Regions from separate parts of the Homo sapiens genome. Here regions 1 and 3 are each linked to region 2. Evidence: promoter capture Hi-C in human tissues and cell types (Jung and others, 2019). All regions are on one chromosome and are shown on one strand. The core of a region is centred on a gene start or on the middle of the fragment in contact, and the rest is flanking DNA. Distances in the headings are between cores, read along the strand shown.

Region 1 (2,716 bases), core at 22-2,521, 1.2 Mb after region 2:
TGAGCTGTGGGATGAAATATCTATTTTGCAAATAATGATTCCAGGTAGGAGGGCAGTGAGGAATGGGGCTCATGAGAAGCGAGTGTTTTATTACACAATTTCTAAAATATGAGCACTTCATGCTCTTTCATTATCGTACATTATTACAGTTCTATAAAAATCATTTCTAGGAAATCAATCCCAACGTTTCAAAGCCTTCCAAAAAGAGCTGGGAGGCAGAGTTTAGAAGAAGCCTGTAAATAGAGAAATTATACTTTCAGCTTTATGTAATAAGATTTACTATGGCACTGTCCACACTCAGACCTAGTCAACCCTGCATGAGGAATGCAGTGACTAGGGATTTATAGAGTTCCTCCCTGGCCACAATTTCAAAAGACAGCAACATTTTTGACTGACCTGGAAAAAAGTCAGATGGCACGTCAGCTACTAAGTCTTTTTGTAGTCAATACTAGAGAGGGAACGATGAGGTGACTTTTAGGAAGGCAAAAAAAAAAAAATTAATGTAACAATGTCCAATTTTGAACATTTTCCAGGTGCGAAGACAGAGGCCCAGATAGTGTGAGTGAAATTACTTTTAGTGAAAGCCAGTGAGGCAGTGATAAATCCGTTTCTATTTACAGTTGTACGATTTCTCCACCTGGTGCATAGTGGGTTTGGGGAGCGTCTCCACTCCACCCTCATCCGTCTCTAGTATTTTCCCCCCCCTTCTTTGGAATCCAGGTTTTCGTTCCAGGAAGTGCATTAACTTGCGGGATAATTTGCTGATCACACTGGTACAGAAACCATTGAGAGGCTTTAGACTCCTACTCATAGGGATCAAGACCTGGAGACAAAGGAGTCAAGGGAAGCCCCATGGCCTAACCACAGCCCTAGGAATATCCCCAATGCCTAAGGAAACCCATTCAATCCATCTAAGCTTCAAAGTGTCACCAAACTGAGGAAAAGCCAGTGGAGTTAGTCCATAAGTCCACTTTGAATGGTGATGATGCCTTCATAGCTACAAGCATTTCACGTACCTCTCCTCACTTTATCTTCATAAAACATTCATTGAAAGATTGAAAGGATAGTCCTAGCACAGCACTTCTCAAACTCTAATGTGAACAGGCATCCCCTGTAAATGTGTTAAAATACAAATTCTGACTCAATAGGTCTGAAGGGGTGGTCGGGGGACTGAGGCTTCATGGTTCTAAAAAGCCCCCAGGTGATGTCGATTCTGCTGCTCTGAGGACCATACTTGGAATAGCAAAGGCTTAGAGCACAATTTGGAAACCACAGTTCTAAGGATTGAAAAGGCAGTAGCAATGAGTAGCTCACCAGCCTGGGCTCAAGTGGGATGTTAACCAGATGATATTTCCTGCATTACTATTTTATTAACACCTGACAGAATTGAAGAGCTATACCGCATGGGGGAAAGATCTCTGGAGAACATTTTCTGATGGAGACCAGGAAAGGAGTGAAACAAGATTTACTCACGAGAGAAGCGGGCCAGTGGTCTGGCATTCTTGTCTCCAGCTTCATTTGCAACTAGAAAAAAAAAAGAGGATGCAATTTAAATAAATAAAGCAATGTGTCCACCAAATATGCCCCAATACAGCCAATCCCCTGGATGCTTTGACATCGGGCTGTATTTAAGAGTCTTTGTAAGTGAATAAAAGCAACTTTACTCCCTCCGTGTCTGTATTTCCAAGGCTGCCCTCAACACCTAAATGAAGTCAAATGTCTCAATCATTTTGATTAGAATATTTGGATGAAGCTAGAGAGGATCTCAACAACATCCAGTTTAGTAGGCCTAAAGAAGTTAATTGGCTTACATCCACTTAGTAAGAGGCACACACACCAGCTTCCAAGCTAGTGGACGTCCTTTGGCCCCAAGAGTCCTCTAACAGTGCTGTCTGTCAACATGCAAATGCACCCCAAGCATCGAAATGAATCTGGTTTCCTAGGATCCATAGGGGCAAAGCTGAGGCAGGAATTTCGGAAGATAAATAAAAAGCTGGCTTTATGTTCAGAAAGATATTAAATTTAGATGCTAACAAACAGGGAAGTTCATTAATAGAATTGTTCAGAAAACTGCCCTAGAAACCTTACCCCTAAAGCTTCTCAGCAGGGCAGGCTACCTCCTACGAAAAGTCTCCATATAACTTATCATTGGATAGAGTCATATTTAATGTCCCTTATAACTTATGAACCCATTGTATTGGGTAAAAGAGATTGGTTGTTAAGGGGAAACACAGGTTTCACTCATTTTAAATACCATGTTTCATGCCCATAAACATTATACCTTGGTTGTTGTATGTATACATAGCAGACAGACATGGGTATTTGTGATCTACTTGGATAAATGCCTAAAGCAATCAACAAGAAACACCTGTTCATTCTAGCTGAGAAAAAAGCATTCAATGCATCAACAGAATAAAGGAGATTGCTAACGTCATCATGAATGTATGAGAAGTTGCAGCAAAAGGACAAAACCAATACAGTAACTACTTTCTAAACTTATTATATCGTTTTACAAAGAATGAAAGAAGTCGAAAAATTTATTCCACCCTCTCACAAAGGTAAGTATTTTAAAATTTACTGCATTTGAGCAATTTTTTAAAAATTAATGGATTCCATCTCAGTATATTTTGTTTTTCTGGCATTAGCTTTGCCTCACCATCTACACTCTATTACTAATAAGGCCAATTACTAATTTGGGCAATTTGTCTATTACTAA
Region 2 (2,700 bases), core at 130-2,629:
TCCTGGACTGAAAGGAACATGAACCAATCAGACTACCAGTGTGTTGTGTCAATGGGGGTCAGCGGTCATTGGTCAGTAAAGAGAAACATGGACCTAGGAACCTCCACGCGTCTTTCTGGGCCCTCAGATTGCTTCTTTCAAGTTTCCATATGGATTCCTCTCCATCCACAGGTCCTTTCCTCTTTGGTAGACTGGCGACCCCAAAGGAAGGCTCAAGGCTCTCCCTCCTCCTTCCCCCTTCTTGAGGCCTCCTGGACAAGGTGGCCATACCTAGAACTTGGACCCAAAGGGAAGCTGAGCGAGAATTTACTTGAATGGGCAAGAACAGAGCCTGGCTGCAGAACTGAGAGCTCTCAGAGACTGACGCCTGAGGCAGGGACCAAAAACCGAGAGCAGAGGCAGGCAGGAGCAGCTGTGGGATGGGGGCTGGGTGGGGTGGGCAGAGGGTGAGAACTTGCCTGGGAGTGGGTAACTAACTACTCTCAGTTAAGTTTGGGCTTCGCTGCCAACCCGCTAGGCCACCTTTACCTGTGTAGTTCTCCTTATTAAGCCATTTGCACTAGGAGGAGGTTGGACAGGACTGTAATAACAGTAGCAATAGTAATTTATTCAGCATCGGCGAATCAATGATACCAGGGAGAAACTACTATGGGGTGAGTGTACCATTTTTATTTAATGCTGCTGTGAAGAGACCTGGGGGCCGGTACTATTGTTCCCTTGTGCAGATGAAGAAGCTGAAGCTCAGAGAGGCTGAGCCACTTACCCAAGCTCACAGAGCTGTGGCACAGCAGGGACTGGAGCCAGGCAGTCTGATATTTTAAGTTGCCTCTGTCCTGTAAGCACCACCATCCCCTTCCTGGTCTTTCTCCGGGGGCGGGGGGGTCACATTGGAGGACATCCCGACAGGCACCCCAAAACTAGCTGACCCTCCCAGGCCTGGGCGGTAGGGGCAAAGAAGAGCCCAAGGAGGGTCTGAGACTTGCCTGGTAAGGAAGGCTTCTTGGAGGAGAGGGAAGACAGGCTCTGATACACAGGAAATCTTGAGGACCTAGGGAGAAGAAAGAAGGCTTTCTAGTCCTGGCTATGATGGAGAGACTGGAAAGAGGGTGGTGAGCCCAGGAGGCCCAGAGTCAGAGGAGACGGGGATGACAGGGGGCTGAGGGCTCCACCTCAGCGCCCCCGACCCCCGCCGCTGGGATTTCCCGCCGCAGCTCCTGCTCCAGTCTGTGCTGCGGGTGGGGTCGGGTTGAGCAGCCCGGCGCCCCCCACCGCGCCCCCCACCGCACCGCCCTCGATCTAACCCCGCCCCCGGGCGCTCATTGGCCTGCAGCACCCCCTCCCCAGCCTGTGAAGTGAGCAGGGGGAGGCGGTGGTCGGTCGCCTCCCTCCAGCGCCCAGCCTGGCTTCGCGGCGGAGGCGGCGCCTCTCCCGCAGGACGGAGCCAAGCTGGACTGCCGCGCCGCGCGGGGCGGGCAAAGGGGGCGCTGCGCTCGGCCCCGGGCAGGGAGTGACGGCGGCGGCGGCGGCTCCGGGCGAGCGTGGTCCCCGCGTGCGCACACGCACACGCCGCCGCGCAGGGACACACGGACCCCGGCCGCCAGCCGGCCACACAGGCGCGGAGACCCGGCTCGGCGCGCGCTCCTCGGCGCACACGCTCCCCATCCCCGCGCCGCGCGGGCCGCGGACTTGCAGGCTGCGCGTCCTTTGCGGAGTCTGCCCCGGCCCCACGGACAGGCCCCGCAGTGAGCAGGTAAGGGTCGCCCCGCCGCGGCTGCCCCTCCACGCCTCGGCCGTCTTCTCCCCCTCCAGAACCTTCGCCCAGCCGGGACCTCGGATCCCCTCCTCTGGCTTGGCGGTCTCCGCCAGCCGCGACCTCCACCGACGGAGAGCGGGCGAGGGCCGGCGCCAGGCAAGCCTCCCAGATCTGAAATGAAGCCCCCTCCCGCCGCTGCGCCCTTCCTGCGCGTCAGGCTGACACCCCCCAACCCAAGTGTCTGGCGCTGCGCTCGGGGCGGCCGATCGCCGCAGACTGCCGGGGTGGGGGTCGACCTAGCTATCTCACGCCCCTCCTGATGCGGAGAAGGGAGACCAGGGGGGCAGGCAAGCCATGCGGCCGGAGGGACCCGGAGGGACATGCCTCCCTACCCTTAGGTGGACGGACGCACCTACGCGGATCGGGAAGGCAGGGCTGGAGGGTCCCCCGGGGCTAGGTACCGCAATCCGCACGGGGTTTGAGGGGTGGGCAAGCAATGTGCTAGGTGGGGGTTGGGGTAGGGGCCAGTGTAGAATGCCCCTCTGTGGTGACACATCCGGGATTGTTCAAAAGAGTGTCGTCTTCGTTTCCCGTGGCGCGGAGGGGCTGGGGTTGGGGATGCCAGGGCTTCAGTGGTCCCCAGAAGAAACGCCCTGCGGGGTCTGTGGGGAAACGCACCGGCCTTCCCAGGTTGAAGTGGGCCCGCTGAGACCCCTGCCTGCCGCTTTAGAGGCAGAAGCTCCTGCGGCGGCTGCGGGGGGCGGAGGCCACATCCTCGGCGGGACCTTGGCAGGTTAGGGGGCTCAGAAGGGACAGGGGAGCCGATGGATGCAACTAGACCCTCAGGAGGGAACCCAGCCGGAAGCCGATTGCATTTCACGTGGAGCTGAGGAGGGGAGCCTCACCCCTGGATGGAGCTCAGCCCCTTTTTGGAAGATGGGGGTGGG
Region 3 (2,831 bases), core at 79-2,578, 1.3 Mb after region 2:
GGTGGATCACGAGATCAGGAGATCAAGACCATCCTGGCCAACATGGTGAAACCTTGTCTCTACTAAAAATACAAAAATTAGCCGGGCATGGTGGCGGCGCATGCCTGTAGTCCCAGCTACTCAGGAGGCTGAGGCAGGAGAATTGCTTGACCCCAGGAGGCGGAGGCTGCAGTGAACCAAGATCACGTCACTGCACTCCAGCCTGGGCAACAGCGCTAGACTCTGTCTCAAAAAAAAAAAAAAAAAAAAAGAGAATCATGTAGTGTGGCTTCTTTTGTGTCTGGCTTCTTTCACTCAAAATTCTGTTTCTGAGATTCATCCATGTTGTTTGCACATAGACATAGTTCCGTTTTTCTCTGCTGAATTGTGCTTCTTCAGATGAACATACCACCTTTTATTTATCCATTGTACTGCTAATATTTAGATCATTTCCAGTTTGAAGGTGTTATGAATAGGCTGCTATAAACATTTTCCTTCACATCTCTTGGTGCACATATGTAGGCATTTCTTTTGAGCATATATTCAGGAGAGGAATTTCTGGTTCAAAAGTGATGTATATATTTATCTTTAGTAGATCCTACCAAACAGTTTTCCAAAATGGTTAAATCATTTGCCACTCTCATCACAGTATAGAGTAGTTCTATTGTTCACATCCTTGCCAAGGCTTGATTTTGTGCCCTTTTTTGTTTTTGCCATTCTAGTGGTGTACAAAGCTGTCTCACTAAGGTTCTAGTTAAATAGCCTTTCAGTCTCCCTGCTTCCACTTTTGCCTCCCTCCAATCCATTCTCCAAATAAAAACCAGAGAAATATTATCAAACACAAGTAAGAGTACACTATTTCCCTTCTTAAAACATTGTGATGGCTCCCAGCTACAGTCAGAATAAACCCAAACTCAGAAGCACAGCCTCCAAGTCCCTGCATGATCTGCCTGCTGCAGACCTGCCTGGCCAACTTCACCTTACCAACCACGCTCCATGTTCACTGTGCTCCAGACACACTGCCTCCTTCCTCTTCCTTGAACAAGCCAGGCTCTCTTCCACTTCAGGATCTTTGTATGTGTTGTTCTCTCTGCCTGGAACACAACCCCATCCTCCACCCCCCATCCCCACTCCACCCCTTGCTTGCCTAACTACTATTCTTCCTTCAGGTCTCAACTTACAAGTCACATCCTCAGGTGAGAACTCCTAACTGGCCTCCATTATCAACAGTGAATCTCCTCTGCAACGCTTACACAATCTCCACATAGCTTGTTTCTTTATTCGCTTGTTCATGTCCTATTTTCCCTATTAGATTGTGTGGTCCACAAGGGCAAGGACATGGCCTTCTTGGTCACTACTGCATGTCCAGTACCTGGCACTAGGAGATCAATAAATTTTTGTCAAATGATTGACTTAATAAATAGTATTGCTGGCCAGGCGTGACAGCTCACACCTGTAATCCAGCACTTTGGGAGGCCAAGGCAGGAGCATCACTTAAGCTCAGGAGTTTGAGACCAGCCTGGGCAACACGGCAAAACCTTATCTCTAGAAAAAATGAAAAAATTAGTCAGGTGTGGTGGCATACATGTGTAGTCCCAGCTACCCAGGAGGCTAAGGTGGGAGGACAGCTTGAGCCCAGGAAGTCAAGGCTGCAGTAAGCTGTGATCATGCCACTGGGTGACAGAGTGAGACCTTGTCTCAAATAAATAAATAAAAAGTAAATAGTATCTCTCTCGGGGAGACCTAAGTTAAGCAGCTCTTTCACACTGAGGAAAATTGATAAAGCAAAATGCTCTGAGATGCTCAGAGGAGAGGCCTCATTTATACATCAACGTAGCCATTGTTTACTGGGCACCTATTATGGAGGCGATAGACCCTGTGTACTCTTCAACAGAGACCACCTCGGAGCTCCCTCTCAATTGCCGATGAGCTTTTAATCCAGTGCAGGTGACCTTGAGGTGCCTCAGACTCCTGCTCCCTGCTTTGGGCCACTTTATGTAGGTTTACCTTTTCCACAGAGGTATGGCAGCACTTCCATTCATTTGTCCAGTTTTCTAGTTCAGAAAGTTTGCGGGAGTATTTTTCCTGATAATAATGCTAACAAGTTATCACTTAAATTTTTTGAAAAATTAATAAGAGAAAAATAATGGTCATCTATACTTCTACTACCCAGGAAAAATGAGCATATCCTCTTCAAGGCTTTGTTATTTCTTTTTCCCTTTATTTTTAGTGTTGGTCAAAGGGCTCAGGAGAGGACTTGGTTGAAACTAGTGTATACAGAAGGGAATGTGGGGTTTTCTAATTATTCAAGCTTGCATTGTCCTTTATGCCGAAAACCGGTGGAAAGGAACTCGAGATGGATTACTAACAGCTTCAGGCTTGGAGCCTGTTTCCAGCACTTTGCTCAAATCATTGTCCACATGTTGCCTTTGTCTCCCCATCAGGGATGCCAAGGAGCCTGGCAATATTACAGCAACTCAGCAGACGTTGCCCTGAAATCAAGATTGAATATAGCATCTCCCAGATCAACCAAATAGATTCAGAACACATATCTTTGGCCCACCTTTCCCAAAATGGAGATTTTGTTTGGATAAAGAGCCATCACATATGGCACCCCCAGTCTGTCCTAAGCACAGTGCTGGACACTTCATATATCTTTAATCCTCACAATGACTCTAGATGTAGGCATTGTCTCCATTTGCAGTTGAGGCTCTGCAAGGTGAGTGAACTGTTCAAGGTCTCAGTAAGTGGCTGATTCAAGCTTGCACTCAGCCCTCTCTGGCTCCACGGCCTTGCTCAGCTATGCTGGTAAGTTTTGCCTTGGCTGCAAATGGCTAGAATCAAAGGAAGAA

Evidence for each region. The method cuts DNA at HindIII sites, captures the fragments that hold promoters and counts their contacts. A contact is called where the count stands out against the background at its distance.
Region 1: a fragment that was not itself captured here is called in contact with the fragment with the promoter of ADCYAP1R1 in region 2 in 2 of the 25 tissues and cell types used here (bladder and thymus).
Region 3: a fragment that was not itself captured here is called in contact with the fragment with the promoter of ADCYAP1R1 in region 2 in 1 of the 25 tissues and cell types used here (dorsolateral prefrontal cortex).

The regions. Positions count from the first base shown.
Region 1 is chr7:32,208,016-32,210,731 of GRCh38, forward strand. It overlaps a transcript of PDE1C not described here. Among named protein-coding and RNA genes, the nearest start is that of PDE1C, 140 kb to the left of the region's middle. The HindIII fragment of the contact is 5,205 bases long and covers 1-2,716 here.
Region 2 is chr7:31,050,929-31,053,628 of GRCh38, forward strand. It overlaps ADCYAP1R1 (ADCYAP receptor type I), which reads left to right and starts at 1,380. Exons shown (of 16, transcript NM_001118.5): 1 at 1,380-1,750. The HindIII fragment of the contact is 8,235 bases long and covers 1-2,700 here.
Region 3 is chr7:32,327,541-32,330,371 of GRCh38, forward strand. It overlaps a transcript of PDE1C not described here. Among named protein-coding and RNA genes, the nearest start is that of LSM5, 160 kb to the right of the region's middle. The HindIII fragment of the contact is 3,318 bases long and covers 1-2,831 here.